Linked DNA regions of Homo sapiens: regions 2 and 3 are each linked to region 1. The links are contacts of gene promoters, found by promoter capture Hi-C in blood cells and fetal thymus (Javierre and others, 2016). All regions are on one chromosome and are shown on one strand. The core of a region is centred on a gene start or on the middle of the fragment in contact, and the rest is flanking DNA. Distances in the headings are between cores, read along the strand shown. Region 1 holds the start of SCG3 (secretogranin III). Region 2 overlaps TMOD2 (tropomodulin 2). Region 3 overlaps TMOD2 (tropomodulin 2).

Region 1 (2,619 bases), core at 50-2,549:
CTGGGTTATTATATAGTTACTCTATGTATTCATTATACAGAACTCAATGTAAATAACTGCTAGGGCATAGAATTTACCAAAACTAGATTTCCCGTCCTAATTTCTGTCAATTAACTATTAAGTTCCTGATGTTTGTAAATTCAAAATGACCAAAATGTCACAGCATAATTACATTAAATAATAATAACTAAATCAAAATGAAATAGCATTCATAATGTTACTTTTGACCTACCTGTTCATTCAAAGGTCTTTCTGCACTTAATTCTCTATTATGTAGAGATTTGTCTAGAATAAACACATGTGAATATAAATTTAATTGTGCGTTGAAGGACAAAATATGCCTCTTATTAAATAAAATTTTTATAAAAAGGAAAAATATTAGGAGAAATAATTTTGGATGACTATGAAACAAATGCATATTAACAAAGATTATCAAGATTATACAATAATAGTAATTATCAATATTGCCTTGTTTATTATCTTGGTGTATTTCTTGAGCTGACAGAATCACACTTTTTTTTTTTTCTGACCAGAAATTTAACATATAGTTCTAACACTAGGGTTATCAGCTATTCTCAGCTAGAGAGAGCATAATTTGGATTGGTATTATTGGCACACTAAAAGCTCTTTCATCATATACTGCATATATAATGAATAGACTGTCTGAGAAAGGTTGTAAGGCAACTAGAAAACAATCCAAGCCACTTTAGGTGAAAAAGGTTCCCTTCCCTTTTCAAAATAAGATCTTTAAAAACAACCCATATTATTGCTCTATCATTTTAAAAGTGAAGAAAAAAAATCTGTCTTCTGTCTCTAAATTCGAACTGATTTCTCTGTCCGTATTCATGGATATGATTTGATCAGAAAACGCGTCAGGGTGATTTACAGCTCACGTATTATGCCAAACTTTACCTTTTCGTGGCGAAATAAAAGGAAGGTAGGAAGAAGAAAAGTGTTCACATACCTTGGCTTCCTCCAGGTTTGGGGAAAGCTTGAATCGGGAGCACTAACACCAGAATCCAAGTGCCGGTCCCGAGGAACCCCATTCTTCCACGCTCGGCTTGGGTCACAGCCCGGCGCTGGGCTCCTGGAGCTGTAGCTTTTGTTATGAATGAAAAGGAGGAGTAAAAACAGGAAGAGCCAGGAGGGTGGGTGTGGGGCGGGAGAGGGGCCGGGACTGGGCGGCTGCAGGATCTCTGACACTCGACGGTCAAGGGATAAGCAGGGTTGGGGCGCGCGGGAGTCAAGTCTCCAGGTAGAGGGGAGCGCTGTCCGCCCTGTGGGTGCTGAAGTTCCTGTGACGCGGAGACTGCGCGCCAGGGCGTAGCTTTACTCTCGCTCCCTCCTGCAGAGGAAGTGAGGAAGGAAGCGCATGCTCCATGCACGCCAGAGGCGGGAGGGGATGGCGTCGGTGACTCCAACGCTACTCCAATCCCCCGGGAATGGAACAAAGGAGGGGCGACCGGCCAGCTGGTGTATTTTCTGTGCTGCAGTCCTAGGGTGCTCCTGGGCTCAGGGTCAGCTGGCTTGTCCTAAGCGTGACAGAATTGTCCCAACCTCTCAAGTAAATGTTACTTCAAGGGCCAAATGCCTTCTCTGCCTGTGCACCTGTCAAGGAGATTTAGATAACCTTGTGCGAGGAGTTCTGCTTCGGGATTCTTCTTTTGGGATATCTGCTCCAGAATCCCTTCCTTCCATTCACCTCCTGTACCCAAAAGGTAGATATAATTATAATCTCTTTAGAAAAGCCCTGCCTTTTGTGGTCTGTGTTGACGTATCAAGCATCCCTCAGCTCTACCGAGGCTTTTGAATTGGGAAATTCAAGGAACAGTCTTCCAAATAGTCAGATTGCTGCAATACACTCTCACTCTCTGATGCTGAAACACAACAACAACAGAAACAGTCCTGAGTAGACGAGCAGCAATGGCAAATTCTCCTTTCCCCACCAAGTGGAACCTCCCCCACTTTACACACACACACCACACAACTAAATTAGAAAAAAGAAGCTGCATTTCTGTAAAATCTTGCCCAGAATTTAATTATGCCCAAAGACCTGGCTGTTCCAGGGGGTCCTTCAAGAGAGGGGATAGTCATGAAAAGCATTTTTCATCTTTACTAAGTCAGGGAGGTGCTTCCTATGTTCTGAGAATATTCCCAGAAGCCTAAGGTTATTGTATACAAGGAACTATCAAAAGACTTTAAATGATGAAAACAAGCAACATTAATGTGAGCAGGATGCTGAGTAAGCTCTTTAGTCTCTGATTTTTAAACAGAACTTGGACCTTTTCCTCTGGACTGCGGCATGCTGGGAACCAGTCTGAATAATGACCAAAGAGAAGGATTCAGCACAATCAGGCCTTTGATTTCTGCACCCTCCTTTTCAAGGAGGAAGTTATTCAAGTACCTAAAAACAAACAAACAACCAAGCTGACAAACAAATCTCCCTTGCTCCGGAGGTTTTTGAGTTTGGAAGTCACTCAAATACTTCCTTTGAGGATCTAAAGAGTATTCTAAATCTAACAGCTCCTTCAAAACAAAAAACTCTTTATTGGCAGTAATAACATAGCATTATTATCCCAGTATACTGCATTAAAAAATTAAGTCATATTTTAAAATCCC
Region 2 (2,619 bases), core at 51-2,550, 130 kb before region 1:
CATTTTTCTCCTGACGTTTGCAAATGTCTGGATGGATCATATACTGTGGACAAAAATCTAGATAATTAACCTGAATGTTTATATTTAATCCAGTGATCTTGTTACACTAAAGACAAAGCAATAAATGCTTCTAAAATTTGCCAAAAAATGCAATCATCTGCATCAGACAGCCTTGATTAAGATACAATATTGTTGTTTTATTCAGGAATGTACTGTTTTAAAAGCTTCTCTCTTACTAAAATTTAGAAAATTTCTATCATGTTTGAAAAACTTTAAAACAGCTTTGTAAATAGCCTTTAAAGTCATGTTAAAGATTCAATTTATGTTGAATAGTCAGTAAAAGTAGGTGTGTAATTCATTTTGCTACCTGTGAGTCTGGCTTGATGCTACATTTGTGGGTTAATAAATAGACTTCTTTGCTACTGTTTTAAAGTGTCATAATGTTGTCTTGCTTTATGAAGATGACACTACTGATCTCCAATCAACAGGGCATGTGCATTTACTGATTTTTCTGGAACTAAGAGAGAATTTGTGCTAAATTGGTCACATTTTCACATGCAGTGAAAGATTGGCAATACTAACTTCTTATGTGGTCAGTAGAACACTTCTGATGTATTTAGCCTAACTCAAAGCTATGCATGTAAACAGAGATAGGCCTCTATCATAATCACAGTTACAAACACATATTATACACTAAATTCCTTTCAGTGATTAAAAAAACAAGTTCATGTAAGAAAGCAAGACAACCCAATAAGAAAGTGGTTAAATTCATTTTCCATGTCGTCACTCTCTAAAATCTGCATCGGTCCATTTGTCAAGTTGCCAGAAGTGCCCATGAGCAAATAAAACAATTGCATATATTACAAAATCCAAGATAAATAAGTAGTGCTAAAAAAGAATAACAATTAAATTATTAGTTATGTGGTTAACGGAAATGAACGAACTTTGATAAAATGGTCCTGATGGGGAAGAAGAAGAGTTTTTGTTTTTCAATGGCCATACCACAGTGAAACTTCACTTCTCCTCAAGGAAGTTTACCTTCGGTCTGCTTCAACTCTCTTCTTACGAACTAGGTAAGAAAGAAAGGAACAAAAAGACAAATTGAAGGGATATTCCTTAAATTCCAGATAAACAACATTAATCACATAAGATGACAATCTCACACACTTGAGGATACAGTTATCTTAAATTTTAATACTTAACCATGACAATCAATGGAAATGATAAATTCATCCAGTGTCTGGTGGAATTTACATTTAAATACATATATGTCTGATAGTTGGGTACTCGAGTGTTAGAACCTTCGAATTTCTATGGGATAGAAATTCCAGAAGAGACCCGTGAAACAGTGCACTTTGACTATTTTCATGGCCGTTTATCCACGGCACTTGCAATTCTGTCACCAACTGGCTTTAACTAACTCTTCAGGTTAACACAATCACAATCTTTTAATTCTGATTATGGGATGAAGTCTGGAAGGAGCTGCAAATAGTTCAAAGTTTCTGAAACTCTTCTAAATAAAAACTTCTAAGTATCAACCTACAGGAAGGTGTGATTCACTTGGCAAGCAAACTCAGAGATTAATGTTCTTTTAACCTGATGTTTAGAACCGAAGAAGTTGCCGAGACTGCCGTTTCCCAGTTCCTGCAACCCTCTTCTTCCACCTTTCACTCTCCCAACTGCAGGCTCTCCTGGTCACTGGGAAGAGGGCTATTTGAACTTTCTTGGATTTGGCAAAAAGGTGCCCTGGCTGTGGTCTTGCTCTAACTCTCCACTTTAAATAGCCTAGCTCCTACCTAGGCTCTTGCCCACAGTTGCTGCTTCTTGGACGTAGGCTGCCCTGTCCATTTTCTTCAGACCTCTCATTTTGCCTGTTTTCCTTTGGTCTCTATATTGTTTGGTTGTGGACCCAATGTGCTTTTCCTAGGTGCCTTCTGATTGCTGCTTCCACTCTTCCCCAAATCCCTATTTGCCTGTCTGTCCCTTGGCCTCACCCTGTGCACCCCCCAGGTAAGCACTGTCACGTGTCCAGCCAGCTTCCTGATGCCACACACTGCACCTTTCCTACGCCTCAGGGTCTTGGCAAAGCCTGTCTGGACAAGGAATTGGAGGCTAACCTTTATTTGCCCCTTCCCGTTCTAACCTTTAGCTTCTATCTTGCCCACTATCTGAGTCCTCCTTGAGGCCAGCACTGTACCTGGTGGAACGCCTTGCCCAGTTCCTCCATCCAAGATCTGGCATTCTGTCCCTGAACCTCAAACTGGGGATTGAAGCCTGCTATTGACTGACTGACCACTTGCCAAATGGATGTCTGCTCCTGGGTGTCCTTTTGCCAGGCTGCTCCAGGTGGCTGGGATATCCTCAGACCAAGCTTTCCCAGTTCCTTTCTTCTTTGCTATGGTTGATCAGGACATGCCCCACCTCATCCTAACAGAAGAAATGCCAGGGATCCTCAGCAACAAGTGGCCACACGAAAAACTGAAGGGGCTAACTGAAAAGGCGACCTGTGAGTTTAAACTTCATAATGTAGCTCCATGTTTATATCACATGTAAAGTGCCAAAGTATCAGACATATCCATATTTAGAACTAAGTACCAAAGCAGTCAGAAGTCAAACATA
Region 3 (2,619 bases), core at 39-2,538, 92 kb before region 1:
AAAACACCTTCTTTACCAGGTGACGCCATCGCCTCAACTCCTGCAGTGGTCAATATGGTCAATATTAAGTTCACAAACATGGGAACTTCCTGACATCATCACAGAAGGAATGAAAATGCAGTTGGGGTGGCTGGTACATTTTAGAATAAGGCTGGTTCTCCTGGGAGGAAAGAGGTTATTATTCTATGTCTTCCAATGGAATAAAAATTCTTGCTAAAGCTGTGGACTGGTTTTTAAAGCACCTCTATCCTGTGGTCATCTAATAACCCTGTGTATGTAGAAGGAAGATCTAATATATAAATCTACTGGTAGATGCAGAAAATCTTTCTTGAAGGCTGTACAAGACATGGGAGTGGGCCTAGGTAATTCAGGTCGAGAGACTTACTTTTCATTACACATTCTTTTGTACTCTTTGACCTTTTTCTATCTGCATTTTAAATAATAATAATTATTATCATGTTGCTATTGTTAAGACTAGAAGGCTAATGGACTTCTTAGCGTTTTCTGAATCAAAATGGAACAATGACTGTGGGAAGAACAAGAACTTTATAGAAATGTTGTGATGATAAAATGCCAAATGTGAAAGCTCCTTAGAAAGCAAAAGAGCTGTTGTTTTATTCTCTAAATTCTCAACACTCCTTCATACTTGTTTGCTTTAATTTCTCACAGTAACTCTTGAGTTTTGTGAGATGGGTATTATTTGCTGCTGAAATAGAGCAAAATAACATTTGCTCAGAGAGTTTAAGTCACCTGCATCAAGACTTACAGCTCCATAATGCCTTGTGTCAACCTGTCATTCTCCTACCTAAGAGAAGCTCAAAGCCTGCTGCCATGGGTGCCAGTGCATGCTCGGAGGTCATAGAGCCAGACAGGAAAGTTCCCAGAGTTCAGGACTAACCTGCAAGATCATAGAGTTCGGTGTCAGAGGCACTGGCCAAAGCTTCTTCCAGTTCTGGGTCAAGGGTCACTTTTTCTTCTTTACGAGTTTCTATAGGCTTTTCTTTAGGGATAAAGACTCTCCCTTTAAATCAGAAGAAAAACAAAAATATTGAGTACTACTGCCTTATTGGTAGGGTAAGTAGACTGAGCAGAGAATGCAGTTCTGGCCATTGAGACCCATATAATTAAGCCAGTTCATATCCAACCGAGATTCCTGGATTGCCAGGATGGTACCAACATCAATAAGTCACTGTCAGAGGGAAGGAACACTGGAGGAGGAATCCTGCATTCTGCCACACAGAGATCTGAGACTACAGTCCTTAAACACAGAGGGAAATGGTGGCTTCTACCCCTCTTATTGGCAGTACTGCCCTTGGGTCTGGGCAGGAGAGGCCCTGCCCTGAGTCGTGCACTTTAGAGAACCCCATACTAGTCTTCCTGTGGCTGTACCTCTCCCCTCCAGGGGAGGAACCATGAGGCCAAAGGGATATGCCCATCCAGCATATAGGCCACTTTCTATACCACACTTCAGGTACCTAGGACCCTGGAATGCCTTGCCCAAAGAGCCCTGAGCCTGCCTCTAGAGCCTCCACAAGCCCCTTCCCATGTCTATCCTCCAGAAGGCAGGTCATGCTGCTGGGTGTGTACCCTCAGGTCAAGGGGAGGCTATTTGTGGGGGAGCCTGGATGAAGCTTGGATATGTGGGCTTGGGTGTCCAACATGTGTGTTTGAGGCCCTGGCAGTGTGGGACAGATCAATATCCCTGCATGGAACTCTTGGAAGTCCAAGAATACTGGCCTCCTAGGTATATCTAAAGGAGGATACAACATATTTTAATGATTTGTTAGCTTTTAAATATTTGGAAAATGTGGCATGTGGGCTTCTATTTGTATACTTGCCTTGGACCCTGCAAATATTAGGAGCAGGTTCATCTAAACAGCACTAGGGGTTCCTGAGTAACAAACTGGTGATCCCCTGGAGCGCTCCCTCTAAATTGGGAATGCAGACAACTAGCATGCCATATCTGGGGCCAGGTGGGCTAGTGTAGTGACCTGGGGACATAGCCACCTCTCTAGAGTCTCCAAAGCAGGCATGATTGTAAGGAAAAATCAGGGTCACTATACTCGGAGCTAGTGGGGTTCTGTGAGCAGCAAGGCATTCTGTGCTTCCCACAGATGCATCCTCTGCCACCATCTCCCATTTCATCCTATCAGCAAGATTCCATTTATTTTGTCCCCTGCTCACTTCTGAAAATGCTGATATCTATTCCCTAACTCCCAGCTCAAACTTCTGGACTGATGAAATAACATTGCCATACCCAGGAGGATGGCACAGTTCCTGCTCCTAACTTCGAGCCAGGCCAACACATCCACATCCCACACGTGCACCAGGGACATTCTAGAGCCATGATCAAAACACCCCAGAGCATTCATATTCCTTTCTAATTATTCCCAGCTTTTGACTCTTTGTTTCTCTCTTTTTTGAAGCTGCTCTGACTTTTGGGGCACAGTCTTTGAAATTGTTCTCTTCCATTTTGATCTGTAGAGTTCCCTAAAGGCTCATCTCACTCCAGTTTCCGCCCATTGGGACCCAAGTTCTCTCCAGGTCTCCTTCGCTAGCCTGGTTTATCCCACTCCTATGGGAAAGGAAAGGGTCCAACCCAAAGTCAATAACCCTCCT

What was found. The method cuts DNA at HindIII sites, captures the fragments that hold promoters and counts their contacts. A CHiCAGO score of 5 or more calls a contact.
Region 2: a contact is called between a fragment that was not itself captured here and the fragment with the promoter of SCG3 in region 1, in 1 of 17 cell types (neutrophils). The highest score is 6.3, in neutrophils.
Region 3: a fragment that was not itself captured here is called in contact with the fragment with the promoter of SCG3 in region 1 in 17 of 17 cell types (M1 macrophages, M0 macrophages, naive B cells and 14 more); the score reaches 10.9 in M1 macrophages.

Annotation. Positions count from the first base shown.
Region 1 is chr15:51,680,183-51,682,801 of GRCh38, reverse strand. SCG3 (secretogranin III) reads right to left here and starts at 1,299. Exons shown (of 12, transcript NM_013243.4): 1 at 965-1,299; 2 at 233-285. The coding sequence starts at 1,046. The HindIII fragment of the contact is 6,229 bases long and covers 994-2,619 here.
Region 2 is chr15:51,806,870-51,809,488 of GRCh38, reverse strand. It overlaps TMOD2 (tropomodulin 2), which reads right to left. Exons shown (of 10, transcript NM_014548.4): 10 at 1-1,069. The coding sequence ends at 1,035. Among named protein-coding and RNA genes, the nearest start is that of TMOD3, 21 kb to the left of the region's middle. The HindIII fragment of the contact is 2,147 bases long and covers 227-2,373 here.
Region 3 is chr15:51,772,114-51,774,732 of GRCh38, reverse strand. TMOD2 (tropomodulin 2) reads right to left here. Exons shown (of 10, transcript NM_014548.4): 4 at 899-1,021. Among named protein-coding and RNA genes, the nearest start is that of TMOD2, 22 kb to the right of the region's middle. The HindIII fragment of the contact is 691 bases long and covers 943-1,633 here.